Regions from separate parts of the Homo sapiens genome. Here all the other regions are linked to region 3. The links are contacts of gene promoters, found by promoter capture Hi-C in blood cells and fetal thymus (Javierre and others, 2016). All regions are on one chromosome and are shown on one strand. The core of a region is centred on a gene start or on the middle of the fragment in contact, and the rest is flanking DNA. Distances in the headings are between cores, read along the strand shown. Region 1 holds the start of SVIP (small VCP interacting protein). Region 2 holds the start of EIF3F (eukaryotic translation initiation factor 3 subunit F). Region 3 holds the start of C11orf58 (chromosome 11 open reading frame 58). Region 4 holds the start of RPL27A (ribosomal protein L27a).

Region 1 (3,122 bases), core at 500-2,999, 6.1 Mb before region 3:
GCGCGAGCTCGGCTCACTGCAACCTCCGCCTCCCGGGTTCAAACGATTCTCCCTGCTCAGCCTCCGGAGTAGCTGGGATTACAGGCGCCCACCACCATGCCTGGCGAAGTTTTGTATTTTTAATAGAGAAAGGGTTTCCCCACGTTGGTCAGGCTGGTCTTAAACTCCTGACCTCAGGTGATCCACCCACCTTGGCCTCCAAAAGTACAGGAGTAAGCCACCATGCCTGGCCTTTTTTTTTTTTTCATACATTTCAGTGAGACAGAGATAGCGCTTACAATTTCACGTTTTCTAAACACAATGCTAAAGAGGAGGTGGGTAGTTATCTTTCTCTTTTTGCAACAGAGAACCTTCACTTTTTCTTTATATATTTTTATTTACCCTTAGAAACGGCCCATGCAATCGAATAATAGTATTAAAAAAGCATCATCCCCTATTATTTAAGGAATAAACTACTGTTTCATTCAATAACATGGAAGAATTTAGAAAATATTATGGCTTTTGCAAAACATATTGTATATTTCATTTATGTAAAACTTAAAGACTATAGTGATATTAACATTTATGCAAAACTTAAAGACTAAAGTGATATTAAACAAATTAATAGTTTCCTGGATCTAGGTATAGGATAAAGTATTGAATGGGATTGGGTACAATAGAAGGTTTTTGGGTGATGGAAAACTTACATATCTTGAATGTGGTGATCACATGTTTGTTAAAACTCAGTGAACTCTACAATCAAAATAAGTGCATAATATTATATGTAAATTATACATCTATAAAAAATTAACCAGCAAGTATATCAAAAAGCCGACAATGGTTTCTGAGACGCTGTCACTATACATCCTACCTTTTTGTAATGTTTGAAAATTTTTACATAAGCAGAAATAACTAATAGAATGCAAAAATAAAATAAAATAAAATAAAAGCATTTGTGTGGAGACGAGATCAGTAACTTTAGTATCACCTGTGGGTTTACTGGAAATGAATCTCAGGTCCCACCTTATACTTACTAAATCAGCAAGTAAATTTTAACTAGTTGCCCAGCTGATTCTCATACTTATTAAAATTTGAGGAGAATCATTAAAACATTTCTCAGTAGATGAAACTTTATTATTTCTCTCGGAAGGATAAATGACTTCTAAATACCAGAAACTAGTGGAAATGTCAACTAATGCCACATTTATGACGCTAGATTCATCGTCATAATAATGGATTTTATATTCTGCCCTCTGTTCTGGAATAGCACTGTCACTAAGAAGGGAGAAAAGGGTGCTGATGTTTACTTGGAATTTTGGCTTTAATTTCTAGGACACCAGAGTCCCATCTCATAAAAAAAGGTAGCATGAACTACCCAGAGCTGTACCACTCATTCATTTATAAATGGTAAGGCAAGGTTAGCAGGAAGAGCTTTGGAACCGTAGCGAAGCTTTTCCATCCCTTCCCTGCATTGCTACCCACAGCAGGTGTTTCCTGGAACCTAGGCTTTGGCCACAAGCCCAGCGGTCGCGGGGCGGGGGTAGGCGGAGCTGTGGGTGAGGAAGGGGCAATGCCTTAAGGGGGCGCAGCTGAGCTGTGGGACTGGTTGGTGTCGCGAGAAGAGGGGGGCGTTGCCGCAGAGAGGCGAGGCGGGGCAGAGCTGCGGGGTGGGGGCGGGGCGTTGCCGCTGGGGCGGAGCCGAGCCAGTGGAGGGCGGTGGGGGCGGGGCAAGCGCGGAGGACCAGGGACCGGCTCCGGACCGCGCAGTTAGCGCCGCCTGGCCTGGGCCGGACCCGGTCAGGGTTCTCAAGCTGTCGTCCCTATGGGGCTGTGTTTTCCTTGTCCCGGGGAGTCCGCGCCTCCCACGCCGGACCTGGTGAGTAGAGCAGGTCCCTGCGTCCGCCGGGCCGCGCCTTGAGCACCTGTCCTCGGGTTGCGGGGCGGGCCGAGCCATTGTACCTGGTGGCGCAGGTCGAGAGCCCGCTGGGGGACCCTGCTAGCGAGGACGGGTGGACGCGTCAGGAGGGTCGTTGGGTCCTGTCAGAGCGACCTAGGCCGTCGCCTCCGTGTAGATCTCCACTTTTGTAACAAAAAGTTGTCGAAAGGCGGCTGTGGCGTCTTTCTACCTTCCACTGACTTTAGCTGCGCCGGATCTTCATAGGGCGCCGGCGCACGCAGAGGGCGTTACGCGTGGGACATTCCGGGGGATGTGGTAGATGGAATTCGGCGCGAAAAGACATTGCTTTCTCCGGGAGCTCTTTAGTCGTCTAGGAGATGTGCGTTTTCAACTGTGTCTACCATCTTTTAAAAGAAGGTGCTCGGAAAGTCGCTTATACGCCTGAGCTTTATCGGATATGTTTTTTTAATGATTTCTTTTTAGTATTTATCTCATTCTTTTACGTTCTCCCTTTAAAAGAATATGTAGTACAGAGTGTCCAATTTATAATGTCGTATTTAATAAAAATACTGGACACCCAGTTACATTCGAATTTCAGATATACAAGGAATACGTTTATAATATCGTTTTGTGCCATGCAATATTAGGGATCTAGTTCTACAAAAACATTACTCATTGCTTATCTGAAATTCAAATGTAGCTAGTGGGTGTGTGGTACAATACATGTACACTTTTTGTAGCTTTCTGTTAACAGTATCTTTACATTAGTACTCCTTACAGGGAGTTAACATAAACCTGTTTCTCTTCTCTAGCTAAAAATTAGTTGAAGAAAATGAAGTATTTTTGGGAAGTACATTAACTCTTCAGCTACTATAGATACTAAAAATTTAGTACTTATAAATTTGATGTGGGAAAGTTCAGCTTCTCTTTGTTGCTGCTGTTGTTTTAAATTAAGTTGATTTTGTTGTTCTGGCTGTCGATAAAATATAACATGTCAGATTTGTTAAGCCCTCCCCCCCATCCTCATACTATACCCTCTTCCCTTGATAACCACACGGCTCACTGCTTGGATGTCACTTTACCAGTGAAGCTTTTGCTGACCACGTTAAACAAAATATATTCCCCACAATACCACCCACCCATTCTCCCATTACTTATCTGCCATGCCATCTGACAGACGTTTACTTACTTCATTATATTTGTCTGTGCGCCCGCAATTGGAATTTGTTTCATTTGGGAGGAGACA
Region 2 (3,008 bases), core at 1-2,500, 8.8 Mb after region 3:
CCACAATGGAGGCCAAAATGACTGGGTGCAGCCTGACCACGCGGCCGCCGGGGAAGGGCCCTGGAAGAGCAGGACCAGGCAGAGCGGGCGCTGGGGTCTGCGCTGGAGCTTGCGCTGAGGCCGGGGTCTGGCCAGGAGCCGCAGTTGCAGCCGCTGCTGCCGCAGGGTCTGAGGATGAGGCTGGAGCCGCAGCGGGAACCGGAGCCGCAGCCGGTGCTGGCGTTGGCGCTGGAACTGAGGCTGGGGCCGCCGCCGGGACTGGGGTTGGCGTGGCCGGAGGAGCACTTACTGGTACCGCCGGTGTGGCCATCTTGTCGAGAAAGAAGGAGGCGGAAGCGGAAATGACAGCATTCATGAATATCAGGAGCTTGATAGGCTGAATATACACCACGTGAGCTAGAGCTTTTTGCTGATTGGTTACTGGTGATACTTCTCGGAGCACTGAAATAGTCCCGCCGTTGGTAATTTCTTCTGGAATTTGTGCGCTCTGCTTTTGGCCCGAGGAGCACTCAGGAAACCCTGGGCTAAGTAGTTCCGGGTAAAACTTGGGACGGCGTTCGAAGAGAAACACTTTGTGCAGCTGCCGCCAGGTGGAACCAGAAAGCAGCGCGGAGGTCGAAATTCGTGTTTTAGACTTAAATGAGATAATGGATGTCAAAGTGCCTTTAAAAAGGATTTTAAGGCCAGGCGCGGTGGCTCACGCCTGTAATCTCAGCACTTCGGGAGACCGAGGCGGAAGGATCGTTTGAGCCCAGAAGCTCGAGGCTGCAATGGGCGAGAAGGAGAACTTAGCTGGATTTCTCCTGCTGCTTTGAGAAGAGACTGGAGGGTGAGGGGAGGTGAGGAGAGGGAGGCGAGAGAGGGAAAAGCAGGGAGACCTGCTGGGAGGCCACTAGGTAATCTAAGTGAGAGATGATGGTGGCTGGGACCAGGCTGGTAGCAGTAGAAGTTCTGAGAAGTGGGAAGATTATGGATATATTTTGAAGGTAGTTTCAATAGGGTTTCCTGAGAAATTGTATATGAGGTGTGAAAGAGAGGAGTCAAGGAGGACTGCAATTTTTTTTTTTTTTTTTTGTACTGAGCGATTAGTAGGATGAAGTCACCATCAATTGAGATAGCAAAAGCTGTAGGTAGAGCAGGTTTTGGGGAAAAGATCCTGATTTCATTTCTGAATGTGTCACCTTTGAGATGTCCATTACACATTCAAGTGGAGTTGTAATAAGGTGTATAAACTAGTCTGTACTTTAGGAGAGGATTATATGAGGTATTGCCTTGTAAAGCTCTTAGCACATGCCTGATATACAGTAGTTATTAAGTCATAGCTATTATCACTATGTGATGGAGGGAGCTCTGACCATAACCCACTGTGTAACTTGGGGCAATCTACAAGTTTTTTCTGAGCCTCAATTTCCTTCTTGGTATAATGGGGTGATAACATCTGCTTGTAAAGACAAAACAAAACACCAAAAAAACTGTCAACTCCCTTAATTAGGTCAAGTCCTAGTGTCCAGCTGGCAAGTGGATAGGTGAGGTTGAACTTCTTATCCCTGATTCTGTGCCCAAGAGTTGATTTCTCCTTGGAGAAATCTTCCATTATTAGAATTCACATGACGCTGCTCCCCTGTAAATGCTCTGTGTAGACATGCATTCTTTCTTTCACCAAAACAAAGGTGAACAGCCAAACAGAAGAAGATTGAAAAGTAACTCTTGGATTTGATGACCTGGAGTCTTTAGCAACCCTAGTAGAGCAACGTCAGTGGGACTGAGGGTGGGGTGGGCACAGAAACTAGAAATCTGGTGTGAGAGAATGGCCAGTCTGAACTGAAAGCAGCAAGTGCCAGCTTTTCTTTCAGGAAGTTTTCTGGGAAGGAAAGGAGACATTTAAGGAAATAGCCAGGGAAACAGCAGGATTGAGAGGCAGCCAATTTAGGATGGCAGTGTTTCAAGTATATTTTAAACTGAGGATAAGAATATAGACGAGAGAGAAATATTAAATATACAAGTGTGAAAAAATATCTAATGAAACGGGCAAAAGGTGGACCCACACTGAGAAGCCTAGATGGTCTTGCACAGGCTGAGAGGCATGCTGGAGAGACTGCCCAGGGCCCTGGCCTCCCTTTTGGGTGCTTAGTAGGGGTCTGCCTGAGTCAAGGTCAGTCCATTGAGATCATCTCATGGGAAAAAGGCCAGAGGACAGAACCCAGTTGAAGAAGTGTTGCTGCCCCCAACTGACCATGCACACCTTTGAGACCTCCTATCTATGTGTTAATCTGGGTTGGTGTGGACACTTTGCCTTCAATAACTTTGCCTTTATATTGATGTCTTAAAGACATTTCTCTCTGGGAGAAAAGAGAAGGGGATGGATGAAGAAGCAGAGATGAATTGGGGAGAGAGGGAAGTTGCAGGACCTCCTGCAAATGACATTTTTCTCAGGTAAGTTGAGGCAAGGTGATCTGCTGTGAATGGCAATGCAAGGGCAGGGATAAGCCTCGGGGGAATGGACAGTGTTTGGAGGAGGGTCTGAGAGTGAGCTATTGAAGGCATTGATCAATTATGGGAGCACCCCCTGAGCCTGGAGAGCTCGAGAATCTGGCCAACTCTTGTGGTTTTTCTCTAGCAACATAGCCCAGGAGCAGGAGAGTACAGATGGTTGGTGTGGTCTTTCTGGGAGGCTGACTGGCCAGGATGAGAGTGTGTATATCCCAAATGCTGGCTTTTCAGTGGCTGTCTGAGAGATATCTGGGGCCTGGGTTCATCAGGGAAAGGGCAGAGGTATGGGAAGAGAGAAAATAGACTGTACCCATGTAGATGGGCAATGTATTGTACGAGTGTATTAGGGTTCTACAGAAAAACAGAACCAACAGGATATATATAGAAAGAGATTTATTATAAGGAATTGGCTTTTGTAATTATGGAAGAAGTCTCAAGATCTGCAGTGAACAATCTGGAGACCCAGGAGAGCCAGTGGTGTAAGTTCCAGACTGAAAGCTGACAGGCTTGAGACCCCA
Region 3 (3,417 bases), core at 226-2,725:
CAAAACCTGAATTACCATATTAACAAGATCTAAAATCCAGTAGCAGAAATAACAGAGAGCAAGAATAAACTTCTCTAGGTGCCCATTCATCCCCAAATCTTTACTGATTGCTAATCTTTCTGCAGAGCTGAAGTCGATTCCTTTAAAGATCCTTAATATTCCGGTCCTCGCCCCACCTCCCATCAGAGGGGTAGGTCTTAACATTATCTCATTTGCTACAAAGTAGTATTCAGTGGGCTTTTAAAATTTTATGAAGAGCGTTGAAATGCACTATCGAAAAATTTAAAGCTCTATGTATTCAGAAATTGACAGTACTTTAAACAAAACCGAAAAAAAACCTAGATATCCCTTCATCTTCCTTAAAGATGACCTCTCCGCGCTCTCTCCAACAATTTTCCCCATCAACGTTGCCAAGACACTTATCCATTGTATGAAGGACCTAGTTTTACGTTTACTGGTTACCTACCGTTTCCATGACACTGGGCTAGGAGCTAGGACAAATATACAAAAAGGCCTAAAATAAGCATCATATTTCTCTCCGAATTCCCAACACCCGGCAGTGCAGTAAATATTTAACGGGTTACTTTAAGGGATAAACCGTTTGCTATTAAAACCTATGAGGTGAGGGCTGAGGAAGGGAACGGCATTTGATGGGGAGACGAGGTAAGAAGAACGAGGTATTAATATCCGACATCAAAATGGGCTTCTAGGTCTCAACGTCTTAGACCTCACCACCAGAGCCAGTACCAAATTACACCCGTGGCACAATTTTCGGCTCAATACTGTTCTCGGTTTACCCTTACTAGTGCAGCTAAAGTTAACTCTCAACAGCACATTGTAAAAATCATCCAGGCAGGAAAAATCTGTACAAACGTGCACGAACATTTCGACATTGTCACGGGAACATTTAGAACCCAAAACAGGGAGAGTCTTGCCGTCTCTATACTGAGTACAAAGGCCCGAGAAAGCACTCTCATCGGCCCCCCAAAACGCACGTACGAAATCCCTTGACTAAGCTCTTTCACTCCTCGACCCTCTCAGAATTTCCTTCCTCAATCCCCCTTCCTACGCAGGTCTCCGGCTCTCAGCGTGTGGGCCTCTTCAAACCTTCTGACCCTCATAAAGATTAAGGGAGGCATTTCCCACTCATTCTTCTGGTTTCTTCCCTGGGCTCTCCCGCTGCAGGCCACCTCAGGCGCGTCCTCCTCCAACCACCCTTCCCGGCCTACTCCAGGCTTTAGTAGGCCTCAACCCTCAGCCACTCCGCCATTATTATTTACATCGTCGTCTGGGGAGGCTGAACGCTTCACCCCATGCGGGTGAGACTCTCTGGCAGCACTCATCCTTGCGGGGATCCCGACGAAAAATGCCGAACCCTCTCGCCGCTCTTCCCAGCCGCAAAACCAGCAGCTTACAATCCGCCAAGGGCCCAAGCAGCGCCACTACAGAACGCAGAGCCCCTCCGGGCCTTCTCTGCCACAGTCGTCACCGTTGCGGCCCCTCGCCGCCCCGGGGCACTTTGGGAGTTGTAGTTTTCTGATTCATTGCATACTGGCCCGAATAAAAAAGATGTGTCCGTGACTAAAACTACAATTCCCAGGAAGCCCCGAGGCTCAATTCGCGCTGTGTGGCGGGAGTGCCCTCAGAGGCCCCGCCTTCGGCTGGTGGAGGAAGCGTTCCCGCGGATGTGTATGGCGGTGAGCGTTGGCCGAGAGCTTTGTCGCCACAGGAGGAGGCTTAGAGGGGTTTTTGCCTTTCACCGTGCAACGCTGCCCTACTGGCAAATGTATCATCGTAGCTAGGCACCTATGTTTAAATGTAATGTTTGAGGCTGACTGAATCCTCACGAATACCCTCCACCCAGGACAAAAACCTTAACCAAAAATGGCTTCTACCATTTCCACCCTGGTGTTCTCTATTGCGCGCAGGGGATTTCTAGGTGGTCGGTGATGCTGCTTTCTAAATGTTTTCATGAATATTTCGCTGTTTTCCCATACAGAAATGAGTTCAGTATGTTGTTAAATGTTGGCTAATTGGCGGTTGTTGAAAACGGGGATTTAGCTGAGGGAAATCTGTTAAGTTTTCATATGGCTTTGTGTGAGGTGGGAGTGCTCCTCACTGACCTCGCTGTGGATGTCTGGGCACCGTTACAGTAGGGGCCTTCACCAAGCAAAGTCCATCCCTGCCACAAAAGCCTCTATTTTTTTTCTTTTTTAAAAAAAGTAATTATTGAGGTTAAATTCACATATAAAATTAACCATTTTTTAAAAAGTGTACAATCCACTGTCACTTAGTACATTCACAATCGTGTGCAGCTGTCACCTCTGATTCCAAGAAGTTTCACCACTCCAAAAGGAACCCCAATGCCCGTTAGCAATCCCTCCCCATTTCTCGCCCTCTCTCCAGATTCAAGTGATCACTCCTCTACTCAAAAAGCCCTGCATTTAAAGCTATTTATTGTTCAGATACTGAAGACTATCTCCTACTTTATTAAGGTGTCTGAATTTGTAACCAGGTCTGAACTTAACTTTCTGTCAGAATCCTTGTCCTTAATAATTCTGAAGCTTTCTCACCTTGAATACAAATGTGATTTTTTTTTTTTTTAAGCAAAAATTAGGCCTGGCGCCATGGCTCAGGCCTGTAATCCCCAGCATTTTGGGAGGCTGAGGCGGGTGGATCACGAGGTCAGGAGTTCGAGACCAGCCTGATCAACATGGTGAAACCACGTCTCTACTAAAAATACAAAAATTAGCCTGGCATGATGGCACATGCCTCTAATCCCAGCTACTCGGGAGGCTGAGGCAGGAGAATCGCTTGAACCCGGGAGGCGGAGGTTTCAGCGACCCAAGATGGCGCCACTGCACTCCAGCCTGGGTGACAGAACGAGACTCGGTCTCTAAATAAATAAATAAATAAATAATAAGTGGTATGGATAATACATATCTGCTGTTTCAGAACTGAGAGCAGTCTGTGAAACAATGCTTAGCTATTAGCTTTTGAACTCAGCAATTGCTCTAGTTTCACTGCCTGTGTACAAATATTACTTACCTAGATTTCAGATCCTCACTGAACTGTGACCAGTGGAAGGTAGTTTTTAAATTTATGCAGTCATAGATTCAAATTCTCCCTTATTTTGGAAGCAGAAAAATAGCATAATAGTAAGTACTATAATAGAAAAAGAGATGTCAGGGTTACATTTTATAAGTATAACCAAACAAAGAACATCTTAATGGTTCTGTGGTAAGAATAAATCATAAAGGAGGAGGAGAGTAAACCCAAGAGAAAAAAAAGAAACATTGTTTTAGGAAGTGGTTGATTGCTTTTTGCTAGAATTAAAATATTTTCACTACTACATAATTCTACTTAGGTTCTATTAGTTACAATGAAATTACATTTAAGTTACAGAGTTTTGCAGTT
Region 4 (3,378 bases), core at 1-2,500, 8.1 Mb after region 3:
CATTACCGCGGCCGCCGGGGTGCTTCCGGTGCTTGCCTGCAGGAATACAAAGCTACGTGGGGCCGGTGTGATGGCTCATGCCTGTAATCCCAGCATTTTAGGAGGACGAGGGGGGGTAGATCACCTGAGGTCAGGAGTTCGAGACCAGCCTGGCCAACACGGAGAAACCCCCGACTCTACTAAAAATAGAAAAAGAATTAGCCGGGCGTCGTGGCGCACACCTGTAATATCAGCTACTCGGGAGGCTGAGGCAGGAGAATCGCTTGAGCCCGGCAGGCAGGGGTTGCAGTGAGCCGAGATTTCGCCACTGCACTCCAGCCTGGGCGACAGTGATCAGTCTCACACACACACAAAAAAGCTACATGCACCACACAGCCTTCTCATGCATCTCAATACTTCCTCGCACAAAAGCAGAGTGTTTCCCAGACTTCTGTGTCCCGCTTACGCTGTTCCCACCCTACCGATGCCGGTTTTCAGCAATGCGATTACTTTAGGATTCCGGGTGAAACATCTTTTCAGGTTCCACATCACAGCATTCCCACAGTACTCCATGTCTTCAACTAACCCAATACCGTGCCTGCTCAATTCCTATTACCCCACTGATGTGAAATTCCTTAGAACTGGAATACTAGAGGATCGTCAGAAAAAAATCAACAGCTGTGCAACTTGACCACAAAAAGGTCTTATTCTAACCCACTTATAGGCTACCGATCTCCAGACTAGCTAAGCACCCGAAGAGAGCCCAAGGCCCACCCCGAGGGGAAGCCGGCACTTACCTATGCGGCCGTGGCCGTGGCTCACGTGGCCCCTAAGTTTCCGGGTCTTCCTCAGTCTGGATGGCTGTGTGGAAAAAGCTTGGTGGTAAGGCCTAAGGAATTAGGGGCAGGGGGCGATGCCCGCCAGCCGAGATGGTCCTGTAAGCCTGTGGGTCAAAGACCTAACTTCTGGAGCGTTTGGGAAAGCTGAGGGTACCGATCCGCTCAGGGCCGTGAGGTCTCACCACGGTAGCGCAGGGGCCCGCGTGTCCTAGAGATCCGAACCGCGGGCCTAACACACGGCTCCGGGAGCCCCGCCCCGGGCCCGCGCCGGCCACCCTGCCCCGCAGGCGGCCATGCGCAGCCTGGAAGCCCCGACCATGGTAGGGAGTGGATGACTAGGGGCAATGGGAATACAGCTTAGGGGTCTCCGCCGGCAAGGAAGAGGAGGCAAGAAACGAAACACCTACCATGTTGGCAGCCCAGACGAAAAAGGAAGGCCTTCGCCAAGTCTCGCGAGGTATCGGCCACGGGGGCGGGGCAAAACGCCTCACTTCCGGTCACAGAGGCCGGGCTTCGGGCGGGGCCTCCTGGTCTCGCGGGATTGCGCGCCTGCTAGTCGCTTCCTCTTTCTGAGGGTGGTGATCCCCCATCACGGAGTGTCCTGGTGGCGGTGTACGGTTTCGGTGAGGCTCGTTGTGCTAGGCTCGGAGGGCGAGAACTGTTGAAGAATCGGGGCTAGGTGTGCTGTACTGCACGCCGCCCGTGCTTGCTTGAGCCAGGCCCTTTTCTGGCGCCTTGGTCAGGGAACCGCCTAAGCCGACCCTAAGGGCCTCGTTGTCTGAGCTCCTCACCAAATGCGCCAGCCCTGAGCCGCCCCGCGCACCTCCACAGTTCTTAGTGGTCTGCCCGGGGCTGGTGATAGTGGCTACTGGTTTGTCTCCCGGCCGCAGTGCGGAACCGCGAGGCCCTCTTTAATCCTCAGTGTGCCCACCTGGTGTCTCGCTCGGTTTCCTGAAGCTCGGGCGGCTCCCGAAATGCCTTCTCCCGCTCTCACACTTCTGAGTGGGCACTGCAGCTTCCTTTCTCTTTTGCCCTTTTGCTATCATTTGGTTGTCCTCTCAAGTTTGAGCAACTTAAATTGCTTCAGGGACTTAGATGCCTGGTTGCTTTATGGTCCTTTTAATGCAGATGTTGTAAATACTTTTTCTAAATGCCACATTTAGGCCAGGCGCGGTGGCTCACACCTGTAGTCCCAACACTTTGGGAGGTCGAGGCGGGAGGATTTCTTGAGGCGAGTAGTTCAACACCAGCCTGGGCAACATAGTGAGACCCTCGTCTCCACATACAAAAGTAAATAAGTAAAAATAAATGCTATTTTTGAATTTTCTCCAGAATCTACATAACACGCCTGTGACCCTTTCCTGGACACAATGCAGACAGTTGCTCGCTTCCCCACCTGTACCACCACACAATCTAGTATAACCCTTATGTAATTTATTGACCTACGTTTGTCTTCCCTACTAGACCTAATTCCTTATGTGGTCAAGGACTGTTTTTTTTAATCCACACTCAACTAGTGATTGTTGAGTGAATAAATGAACTTACCCTCACCTCCCTGTCTTCGCTAATAGCAGCATGTCTTCGCTCTTAAGTCGGTTCCTTCAACCAGTGTTCAAGATCCCATCCCCTCGCTAGTCTATTAATAGATCCCATGGGAAAAATGAAATAAATTTTTAAAATCCCATCCCCTCAGTTATTCTCTGTGTGTATGTGTGAGCGTGTATTTATTTATTTTTCTTTGTCTTGCCCCCTTCAGCTAAAATATATTTTAGCTAAAATATCCAAAATTCTGGCCGGGCGTGGTGGCTTACTTCTGTAATCCCAGCACTTTGGAAGGCCGAGGCGGGCGGATCACGAGGTCAGGAGATCGAGACCATCCTGGCTAACACGGTGAAACCCCGTCTCTACTAAAAATACAAAAAATTAGATGGGCGTGGTGGTGGGCGCCTGTAGTCCCAGCTACTCGGGAGGCTGAGGCAGGAGAATGGCGTGAACCCGGGAGGCGGAGCTTGTAGTGAACCGAGATCGCGCCACTGCACTGCAGCCTGGGCGACAGAACGAGACTCCGTCTCAAAAAAAAAAAAAAAAATTCCAAAATTCTCCCATGTCCTTGCCCTTACAGCCAAGCTCCCCAAAAGAGTAGTCTACAAATCCTGCCCATTTGCACCTTCCCATCCATTGTTCACTGCGGTCTAGCTCACAGCCTGTGACTTCAGTGAAATTGCTCTTACTAATGTCATTAATGAACGAATTGCCAAATTGGACTCTTCCTATTCTTCATATCACTTGTTCTTTCTGTTGTACTTTAATCTGTTGGCGTCTTTTTCTAGAAAAAGTCTTGCCTTCCTCCTACTCTTTGGTCACTTTTCAGTCTTCTTTTCAGGTTCTTCCATCCAGCGTTGTCCACCATTTGAATGTTGATGTTCCTCAGCCTTCTGTCCTTGTCCTTATCTTTTCACAGTACATGGTCTTCTTGGGTGGCTTCAATTCACATCCTTATTGCTGAGCTCCACACCCATATGGTCACTTAATTACTGGTTAGTATTCCTTGGACATTCTA

What was found. The method cuts DNA at HindIII sites, captures the fragments that hold promoters and counts their contacts. A CHiCAGO score of 5 or more calls a contact.
Region 1: a contact is called between the fragment with the promoter of SVIP here and the fragment with the promoter of C11orf58 in region 3, in 5 of 17 cell types (total CD4 T cells, non-activated CD4 T cells, naive CD8 T cells and 2 more). The highest score is 14.9, in total CD4 T cells.
Region 2: a fragment that was not itself captured here is called in contact with the fragment with the promoter of C11orf58 in region 3 in 2 of 17 cell types (non-activated CD4 T cells and total CD8 T cells); the score reaches 6.4 in non-activated CD4 T cells.
Region 4: the fragment with the promoter of RPL27A here is called in contact with the fragment with the promoter of C11orf58 in region 3 in 6 of 17 cell types (total CD8 T cells, non-activated CD4 T cells, activated CD4 T cells and 3 more); the score reaches 13.8 in total CD8 T cells.

Annotation. Positions count from the first base shown.
Region 1 is chr11:22,828,428-22,831,549 of GRCh38, reverse strand. It overlaps SVIP (small VCP interacting protein), which reads left to right and starts at 1,749. Exons shown (of 4, transcript NM_148893.3): 1 at 1,749-1,855. The coding sequence starts at 1,802. LINC02718 (long intergenic non-protein coding RNA 2718) reads right to left here and starts at 2,136. Exons shown (of 11, transcript NR_187210.1): 1 at 1,939-2,136. RefSeq lists a silencer at 1,625-1,694 and an enhancer at 1,845-2,154. The HindIII fragment of the contact is 1,537 bases long and covers 1,432-2,968 here.
Region 2 is chr11:7,984,655-7,987,662 of GRCh38, reverse strand. EIF3F (eukaryotic translation initiation factor 3 subunit F) reads right to left here and starts at 326. Exons shown (of 8, transcript NM_003754.3): 1 at 1-326. The coding sequence starts at 310. RefSeq lists enhancers at 32-81, 1-88, 89-628, 512-691. The HindIII fragment of the contact is 5,200 bases long and covers 1-3,008 here.
Region 3 is chr11:16,736,705-16,740,121 of GRCh38, reverse strand. It overlaps C11orf58 (chromosome 11 open reading frame 58), which reads right to left and starts at 1,475. Exons shown (of 5, transcript NM_014267.6): 1 at 1,281-1,475. The coding sequence starts at 1,343. It also overlaps a transcript of SOX6 not described here. RefSeq lists an enhancer at 972-1,601. The HindIII fragment of the contact is 4,072 bases long and covers 1-2,566 here.
Region 4 is chr11:8,680,664-8,684,041 of GRCh38, reverse strand. It overlaps RPL27A (ribosomal protein L27a), which reads right to left and starts at 1,250. Exons shown (of 5, transcript NM_000990.5): 1 at 1,226-1,250; 2 at 777-840; 3 at 1-36. The coding sequence starts at 1,228. It overlaps TRIM66 (tripartite motif containing 66), which reads left to right and starts at 1,377. Exons shown (of 25, transcript NM_001388022.1): 1 at 1,377-1,441. RefSeq lists enhancers at 329-971, 1,298-1,487, 1,688-1,757, 621-1,820 and a silencer at 978-1,177. The HindIII fragment of the contact is 2,972 bases long and covers 857-3,378 here.